Linked DNA regions of Homo sapiens: region 1 is linked to region 2. The links are contacts of gene promoters, found by promoter capture Hi-C in blood cells and fetal thymus (Javierre and others, 2016). All regions are on one chromosome and are shown on one strand. Each heading gives the region's core, a stretch centred on a gene start or on the middle of the fragment in contact. The rest is flanking DNA. Distances are from core to core; before and after follow the strand shown.

Evidence for each region. Contacts are between HindIII fragments. The CHiCAGO score rates a contact against its expected background, and 5 or more counts as called.
Region 1: a contact is called between a fragment that was not itself captured here and the fragment with the promoter of BCAR1 in region 2, in 4 of 17 cell types (endothelial precursors, M2 macrophages, M1 macrophages and 1 more). The highest score is 12.7, in endothelial precursors.

The regions. Positions count from the first base shown.
Region 1 is chr16:75,286,939-75,290,922 of GRCh38, reverse strand. No RefSeq gene overlaps it. Among named protein-coding and RNA genes, the nearest start is that of BCAR1, 37 kb to the right of the region's middle. The HindIII fragment of the contact is 1,981 bases long and covers 449-2,429 here.
Region 2 is chr16:75,249,838-75,254,008 of GRCh38, reverse strand. BCAR1 (BCAR1 scaffold protein, Cas family member) reads left to right here and starts at 2,385. Exons shown (of 7, transcript NM_014567.5): 1 at 2,385-2,538. The coding sequence starts at 2,527. RefSeq lists enhancers at 1-11, 12-551, 552-1,092, 1,633-2,173 and silencers at 2,173-2,282, 2,343-2,502. The HindIII fragment of the contact is 27,287 bases long and covers 1-4,171 here.

The DNA.
Region 1 (3,984 bases), core at 190-2,689, 38 kb before region 2:
TTTTTAGTAGAGATGGGGTTTCACCATGTTGGTCAGGCTAGTCTCAAACTCCTGACCTCAGGTGAACCACCCACCTTGGCCTTCCAAAGTGTTGGGATTACAATGGCCATGAGTGTGGTAGAGGGGACCCTGGTACAGGAAGGAGGTCCTCTCTACCTCCTAAGATCCTGTGCCTGTTTTTCTTTTCTTTCTTTCTTCTTTTTTTTTTTTTTTTGAGACAGGGTCTTGCTCTGTTGCCCAATTAGTGCAGTGGCATGATCATGGTTCACTGTAGCCTCAACCTCTTGGGCTCAAGAGATCCTTTCATCTCAGCCTCCCAAGCAGCTAGGACCACAGGTATACACCACTGCACCCAGCTAACTTTGTAATTTTTTGTAGAGATGGGCATTCACTGTGTTGCCCAGGCTGGTCTTAACTATGCCTGTTTTAACAACTTGGAAACCAAGCTTTGCAGATTCTGACACCTCATCTTCCCAGACTCTGAAGGGCCTCCTCTGGCCCTTTGTTTTTACTCCTTACTGTTGTGGATCAAGTTCAAGGGACAGGAGAACTGGCCAGCAAGAGAGGGTCCTTAGGCATTAGCAGTGGGTATCTACAAATGGGTGGCTGTTTCTTGTAGGTGTAAGCCAGGCCCCAGGAGGCAGGAGTCTTCTCAAGCCCTGCCTGACCATCCCCATGGGCTGGGTGCTGTGGCTGCAGAATGGAGCAGGCCTTTGGCACCAGCCAGTGACCCAGGCAGAGGACCAAGCAGGTGGGTGTCCATGGGGGTGCCTAAGACGGGGATGGACCACTCTTGGGTATTCCTCTCGGTCATCTGTGCTGCCTGAGCCCATCTGTGCCCTCAGTGGGACCTACCTTCTCAGCCAGCATTGCTACCTGTCCCATCCTCTTCCTACCTCATGCTCAGAGGACTGAGCCTCCTCAGCAAATGCCTAGCCTTTCTCAGTGGACCCACCGAGACCAGGCTGGTGGGTGGGACTAATTAAAGTGTGTTTGCCCTCAATCAAGAATCACCTTTTCGGCCAGGCACAGTGGCTCACGCCTGTAATCCCAGTACTTTGAGAGGCTGAGGCAGGCAGATCGCTTGAGGCCAGGAGTTTGAGACCAGCCTGGGCAACATACAGCGAGACCCTATCTCTGCAAAAAATTTAAAAATTAGCTGGACATAGTGGTGCATGGCTGTGATCCCAGCTACTTGGGAGACTGAGGTGGGAGGATCACTTGAGCCCAGGGAGTCAAGGTTGCAGTAAGCTGTGATTGCACCCTTGCTCTCCAGCCTGGGCGACAGAGCAAGACCCTGTCTCAAAAACAAACAAACAAAAAAATCACCTTTTTTAAAATTACAAGTCTGATTTGAACCATGACAGACACTATCCTGCCCACAATTTTTAAGAACAAGTGACTAATATTTTATCTAGCTCTCACATCCACATTTAGTGAAAACTCATCTAACTCCCAAAGGAAGTGATGTCCCTTTATCCAGGAGTTGGAAATTGTCAAGGAAACTGTTTGCAGGAAGTGGGAAGTGGAAAGAGTGAGTCAGTGCTAAGAGGTGTTTGGCAGCCTTCTGCAGGGCATAGTGCTTGTCCCCTGCTGTGGTGTGAATGGCTGACAAGGACAGTCCAAGGACACCTTCTTAGCTGGTCCTGTGGAGTCCAGAGACTCCCCTGGAGTTGACTTTCCTGGCCTTGCTCTTGTCCTCTCCAAGTCCCAAATGGGTGTGTCAGATTTCCAGGGCATCTGGTACCTTCTCATTACTGAAAAAAACTGCCCTAAAACAGGATAATGTCAAAAGTAAAATAAGCCTCTTGATGTGCTCTGCTCACCTATTTCCTGAGGAATGCAGTGCTCTAATTAGGAAGTCTGCATAAGGTCTCTAGGGGCAAAACGGGACACATTAAGAAGGAAATCCTGAGTGAGCTGTACACTGTCAGCATCCATATGGAGGTACTGGACTAAGGCCTGACAGACACTTAGCTGGCACCTGACTTCAGAACTGGGCAGTGCAGGTTAGCTGAGTGGCTGGCACCGCGAAGGCCAGGAGACGTCCTGGGCAGGAGTGGAGTGATGGTGCTTCTGGCACCCTGGCAGGGACCAGGAAGGCCGGTGACAGGCTCTCCAGGTGCCATGCTGCCTCGTGGCAGCAGAACAGAGGCGATGTGGTTGGTGTGGTGAGATGGGAGTATGTGGTGTGGCGTAGTTAACATGGTGTGGTGTGATGTGGTCTGCGGTCTGACACGGGGTGGTAGAAAGGGCTAGAACAGGCTCTCAAGATCAGTCTTCTGCTTTTTGGTATCAGTCCTTAGCCAGATCTGGAATTGCTCAGGCATGTTGGGTGAGACTTAGGACTTTTTTAATTACCAAAAAGTACAGGTGAACAAACAGGAATTGGGCTGAGAATGGTGGGTTCCTGGGAAGGATCAGAAGCTTTTAGCTTCATCAGCGAACGATCGGTTGGTCCTGCATGCCAGATGCTTCCTGACATGCTATCTTGTTAGATCCTCTGCCCTTTCAGAGGAGGAAACTTGCCTGAGGTCATCTGGTAACACAGCCAGGGCCGCACCCACATGGCATGGCTGGAGGGCAGGATGTAGGAGGCAGCAAGATTGAACAGCCTCTCATCACCCCCTGGATCCCAGCGCCATGTTGGGAAGGAAAGACCCGAGGGCAAGGAGACAGAAAAACCAAAGGTTGAGAAGGTTCTTGCAGATGAAGAGCTGCCTTCTGGTACCGAATTTTTGTGTCAAGAGTTCACTGAGATGTGGGCACCCTGGCCTCAGCTCTGGTACCGCCCAGTCTAGGGCAGCTTCTGACCCACTCTTTGCAGGGGAGAGGGGGTACTGCTGAGAAGTCCTTACCTAGGACTTAAGCCCTGCTTCAGACAGGCCTGGTGGCCGGGTGTCACCCATGTCTAAGCTCTGCTCCATGGTCACGTTTCTGTGCTGAGCATTTCTGAGTGGAGGGTGTTGCCCTCTTTGAGACACTGCCTGGGGTTAGGGAGTGAAGGGAGGAGGTGCCCAGATGACTGCAGCCACTTGGTGTGTGGGAGGTTCAGCAACTCAGGGACATTGAGTGCCACTCCCCTGCCCCGCCTTCTCTGGGCTGGAGATTCCCATCTTGGCCTCTTCTGCTTCTTCTTTTTTTGAGACAGGGTCTCGCTCTGTCGCCCAGGCTGGAATACAGTGGGGTGATCTCAGCTCACTGCAGCCTCAGCCTCCCTGGGCTTAAGCAGTCCCCCCACCTCAGCCTCTTGAGTGCTGGGACTACAGGCATGCACCACCACGCCTGGCTAAGTTTTATATTTTTGGTAGAGACGGGGCTTCACCATGTTGCTCAGGCTGGTCTCCAACTCCTGAGCTCAAGCAGTCGTTGTGAGCCAGCCTGCTAAGTCTTTTTTACTATTGCTTTTATTTATGCCCTCCTAGAGCAACTTAAGTCCAAAAATACTACCAGATGCAATCTTTGTGCACAGGCAAGTTGACTCCAGCAAGGAAACTGGGATGGAGAAGTCCAGCAGGGTCGCACGACAGAGCCCCTCCTTGGGGCCTCTCTCCCTCCTATGCAGCCAGCTTTTGTTGTTTGTGGTCTCAGAAAGCTGGTGAGTAGGCTGAGTCTGTGTTCATATAAGGTGCAAGGTGGCTGTGCTAGGGAGGAGGAGGGAGAGAAACTAACATAAGGAGAGCGCTGTCGGGTCAGACACATGGCTTGACATCCTCCTTCTAACCCCTCCTATCTCTGGGATCCGGCTAAATCCCTCAACCCCTGCGTCTCGGATTCCTCACCTTTGAAAGGTTGCTCAGGATGGTGAATAATCCTGCTCTGCCTACCTCACAACACTTTATTAAGTGAAATACACCATCCGTGTTGCTACAATTAAATTGTGCCCCTGGCTTCCCCTTCCCCAAGAGAGCCAAACTTACGGGAGTATAAATTAGTGCCACTTTACAGAGCACTTTGGCAATGTCTAATAAATCTGGAGCTATA
Region 2 (4,171 bases), core at 1,136-3,635:
ACCAATATGGTGAAACCCCATCTCAAAAAAAAAAAAAATTGGGGCTAACGGTGAGCCTGTTTTGCAGGATTGCTGTGTGCACAAAATAAATGCATGGGCATAGGGCCCCTGGCACTGGCTGGGCGCAGAGGCTGTGCTGGGTATGTGGGGCTGCATCCCTGTCCTTGACAGCGGAGGTCCGGGAGGCTGGACTGGGGGTGGGGTGAGGTTCTGCCCCCATATACCCCGGCCAGAGCCTGGCCAGTGGGTGCTCCTCCCCCACCCCCCAGCTACATCCCCATCAACACTGTGGGGCTTAACTTCTGGGGCCTTGTTTCCAAAGCGGAAATGCCATTCTGGGAGGCACAGGCTTTTGGGGGAGGGAATTTAAGTGGAAAAGGAGCAAATTTTTGAAATGCCTGTGTCGGAGCCTGTTTCCCTTGCTGCCTCCTGCTCACACCAGCAGCCCCACCCCCAGTGCTGTTCTAATGCAGCTACTGGGGGAGGAGGGTCTCATCCCCCAAGGTTCCAGCCATCCACCTCCTCTCTGCACCGCCCTCCTTGGCCAACTAGGATGGAGCAGGGGCCAGCTCCCTTGAGGGCCAGGCCTTTTGTGTCCTTGCCCGTCCCTGCAGAGACTGCTGCCTGGGGCCCTGCCAGCAGGGCACTGCCTGCCCATGAGGCCTGGTCTCCCCTCCCCACAGAAGTGGAGGCCCAGGGATGACCTCAGGCTCCTGAGGGTCCCGCTGGTTCAGACCTGCTCTCTGGGAAGCTGGTGTGCCAGCCAGGCTGAGGAGTGGGTGGCTGGACAGGGTCAGGGTGCAGGAGGGGCCCGGCACAGCTCTTGGGAACAAGCAGGAGGAGATGCTCCAGGCAGCTTCCCTGAAGGCTGGCTCCTCTTCTGAGGCGAGGCGGGCTGTGTCGGGGAGGCACAGGGTGTTGGCTAGCTGTTCTGTTCCTCCTGAGGACTCTGGGTCATGCTCTGTCTCATCCCACTGCTCCTTCCTCACCCGCTGTGCTGTGAGTTCTGGCCAATGCTTCCCAAGCCAAATATTGAAGAAATGCAGACGTCCAGTTTTTTGGGAGGGGTGGGACACAGGAGTCTGTTTTTTAACTAGCTCCCCAGAGCACCTGAGCAGCAAATCATGGGCTGTCCTAGCCCCTTTTCAGATGAGAAAGGAGCCCAGAGAGGGGAGAGGGCCTGCCAAGGTGGCACATCTGGCCAGGCGCTGCGTAGGCTGAGCCCTGGGGGTCAGACAGAGGGGCAGCTGCAGGCCCACCTGGGCTTGTGTCTTCCATAGGCCATGCTTGAGAATTCTCTGCTGCGTGAAGCCGGGTCTACCCCGCTGCTTCCCTGCCACCAGGGCTGCCTCGTGGCATCCCATTGCTCAGCCAGTGGCCCAGGATTGTTGACTGAGGGTCCTGTCTGGTCTGGACCAGGCTCGGTCCTATCATCTCCCTGCAGATTGTGCCTCCCTGGCCTGGCCCAGGGGCTCTGGCACCCTGGTTCTGCTGCATGGGGTGACAGTCACTGACCTGCAACCGAGCAAGGGGCAACTCAGGAGAGCCAAGGTTGTCTCCACTCGGTTTCCCCCGAGTGATTCTTCCTTCTATCTCCCTCATTCCCCCAGTGCCGCTCTCCTACCCCATGTCGCTGAAGCAGATGAGTTGGAGCAGGACTCAGGAGGGTACTAGGCCCAGGTTTTAGGCTGAACCTAGGAATGAGTAATGAGAGGAGGCAGATCAGCTGGAGGACCAGCCCGAGTCCCCAGATGTCGGCACAATGCAGGGGAAGGTAGGTGCTGCCCGTGAAAAGCGCTGGGTCGAGAGCTCGCCAGCCTCCCTGCTTGAGGCTTCATTTCCTGGGGTCCTTACACGGTGGGACCGTCTACAGTCGGAGCTGTGGTGGTGATGATTCGTCTCCTACAGGCTGGGGCACGCCCCCTCCCCTTTCCCTCTAGATTCAGATTTGAGTCCCACGGCCCATGGACACGCGATGAATGCCCTGGGGTTGGTTAGCGGGAAAGACAAGTCGACTTGAGGCCATGTCTCGGCTCTGGAGGAAGAAGGCAAACCGGGCAGCCTTCCCAGAAGTGGAGGAGTTTGCGTAGGCCTTCGGTGCGTTCTCGCCTGGGTGGAAGGCGGGGACGTGCATTTGTTGGAGAGCGGTGTCCTGCGCCCTAGGCTGGAAGCCTGGCCTCGGGCAGGGGCCTGGAGCCTCGGGGTTGGAGGTGGGGGGCGGGGCGGGGGGCGGCCCCTACTGGGCGGGCTTCTGTCTGCGCGCCCGCGCCCCCGACAGGCGGCTTATTTGCATGGAGAGCGGCGGCGGCCAATGGGCGCGCGCGGCCGGGCATGCTGGGATCGGGCTGGGCCGGCTGGGCCGTGGCGGCAGGCGGAGAGCGGCTGGACCGGCTCTGGGTGGCCGAGGCGGCAGCTGCGCGGCGGCACCGGGGCGGCTGCGGCGCGCTCGGAGCCCCGAGGGCACGCGGCCCGGGCAGCTCGGTGTGCGCCCCCGCGAGAGCCGGGGCCCCAGGCCCGCCGGACACCATGAACCACCTGGTGAGGGCGCCAGGTGGGGCCGGGCCGCGTACGGGCTTGGAGGCGGCAGCGGGCTGGAAGGGGTTAAGCGAGCGGCATTTCCTGCCGGACCTGCGGGGCCTGGGAACCGCCGGCCGGGGTCCGCGGCCCTGGGATCTCCTTCTGCCCTGGCCGGGAAGCCGGGAGGCAGGAACCGCGGGGGCTCCGGAGCCTGTGCGCCTCGGGTGCGTTGGCGGGGCCGGGCGCGGGGGCCGCCAGCCGGTAGGAGGGTTCCTGTGTCGGGAAAGTGGCTGGCGGGGCCCGCGCTCCCCGGCCGACGGCCGCCTGCTGTGTCACCTTGGGCCTCTGCGCCCTGCCTCCGAGCCTCAGTTTCCTCGGCTGCGAGGAGGGGCCGTTGAGCCTCTGGCGGGTGGTCCGGCTGGTGTGGCGTGGGGACTGCCCACCGGCTCCCGGAGAGGGAGGAGCTCCGGGGGACCGAGGCCGGGCGGGCAAGTGCGTGGCGCCAGCGGGGAAGGCTGCGCAGCCGGAGCACCCGGCTCCAGTTAATGATTCACTCCGGCCGCCGGCGCGGGGTTCCGGGAGCGGAGCGGGAGTGGGGGCGGGCGCGCCGCGGGCTTTGCAGCCCCGCACGCCGAGCGCCGGTGGAAGCCGGGTCCTGGCCACAGGAGTCCTAGCCGCACGCGAGTGTCGCGGGAGGGGGCCAGGGCCGGGTTCTGCAGTGTGGACATGAAGGCTTTGGAGTCCATGGTTGGGGGACCCGCAAGAGCTAGAGCAGGGTCGGAGCTCCCTCTCGAGGGTCCGAGAGGCTGATCGCTGGACCGAGGTGAGGGAGTTGGGAAAGCGGAGATTTGCCTAGGGGTGCGGGGTGAGGGGCTTACGGCCTGGAAGATGTTGGGGTTTCGAGTTCCAGATCGGGGACAGCAGCTCCTTTTCTACCACAAGGCTCCCGTTCCCTCCTGAGAGTCCCTGGTTTCCTTTCCCACACCCCTCCCGGGGCCCGCCGCAGCTTTGGTCACCTTCTCAGAATGACCATGGGTTGATCTCTTCTTTGCTAGTGAGATGTTTCCCATCGCCCTGGGCCGGGACACGCCCCCTCTTGTGCCCATTCCTTTCCCTCGGTGGAGAGTTGGGTGGTGGGGGCTGGCCGGCCTGTGAGAGCAGGTGTCGGGGTGCCTGGAGAATCGGGGCCCAGGTACGGGGGTGGCGGGGCTGTGGGGAAAAGAGCTTTGGGGAGGAGCTGCTGACACTTCCTCCTGGCACTGCTTGCCCGGGAGCTGGGTGGAGGCAGGGCAGGGCAGGGCAGTCCCAGGTTCTGCCAGGAAAGTCACCTTGGGCTGGGGCAGGAGGCTTGGAGCTTCTGGCCGTTACTGTTTGTCTGAGCAGGAGGGTGAGCACTGTGTACTGGTACCATGGCCCCAGGTCTAGGCGAGGGATGGAAATAAGGACAGTGCCACTAGGGCCTCCTGTCTGTACAGGAGGGGCCCTGAGACAGCTCCTCAAACCCCTTTCCCATTATACGGATGGTGCAGATGGGGACACTGAGGTACAGAGAGACAGTCAGTTGTCCTCAGAATTGGATCCAGAACCTCGTCTTCTGGCATGGCCCCCCAGTGCAGCACCACATGTGGCCTCCGAATTCCCAGTCTGGGATTGG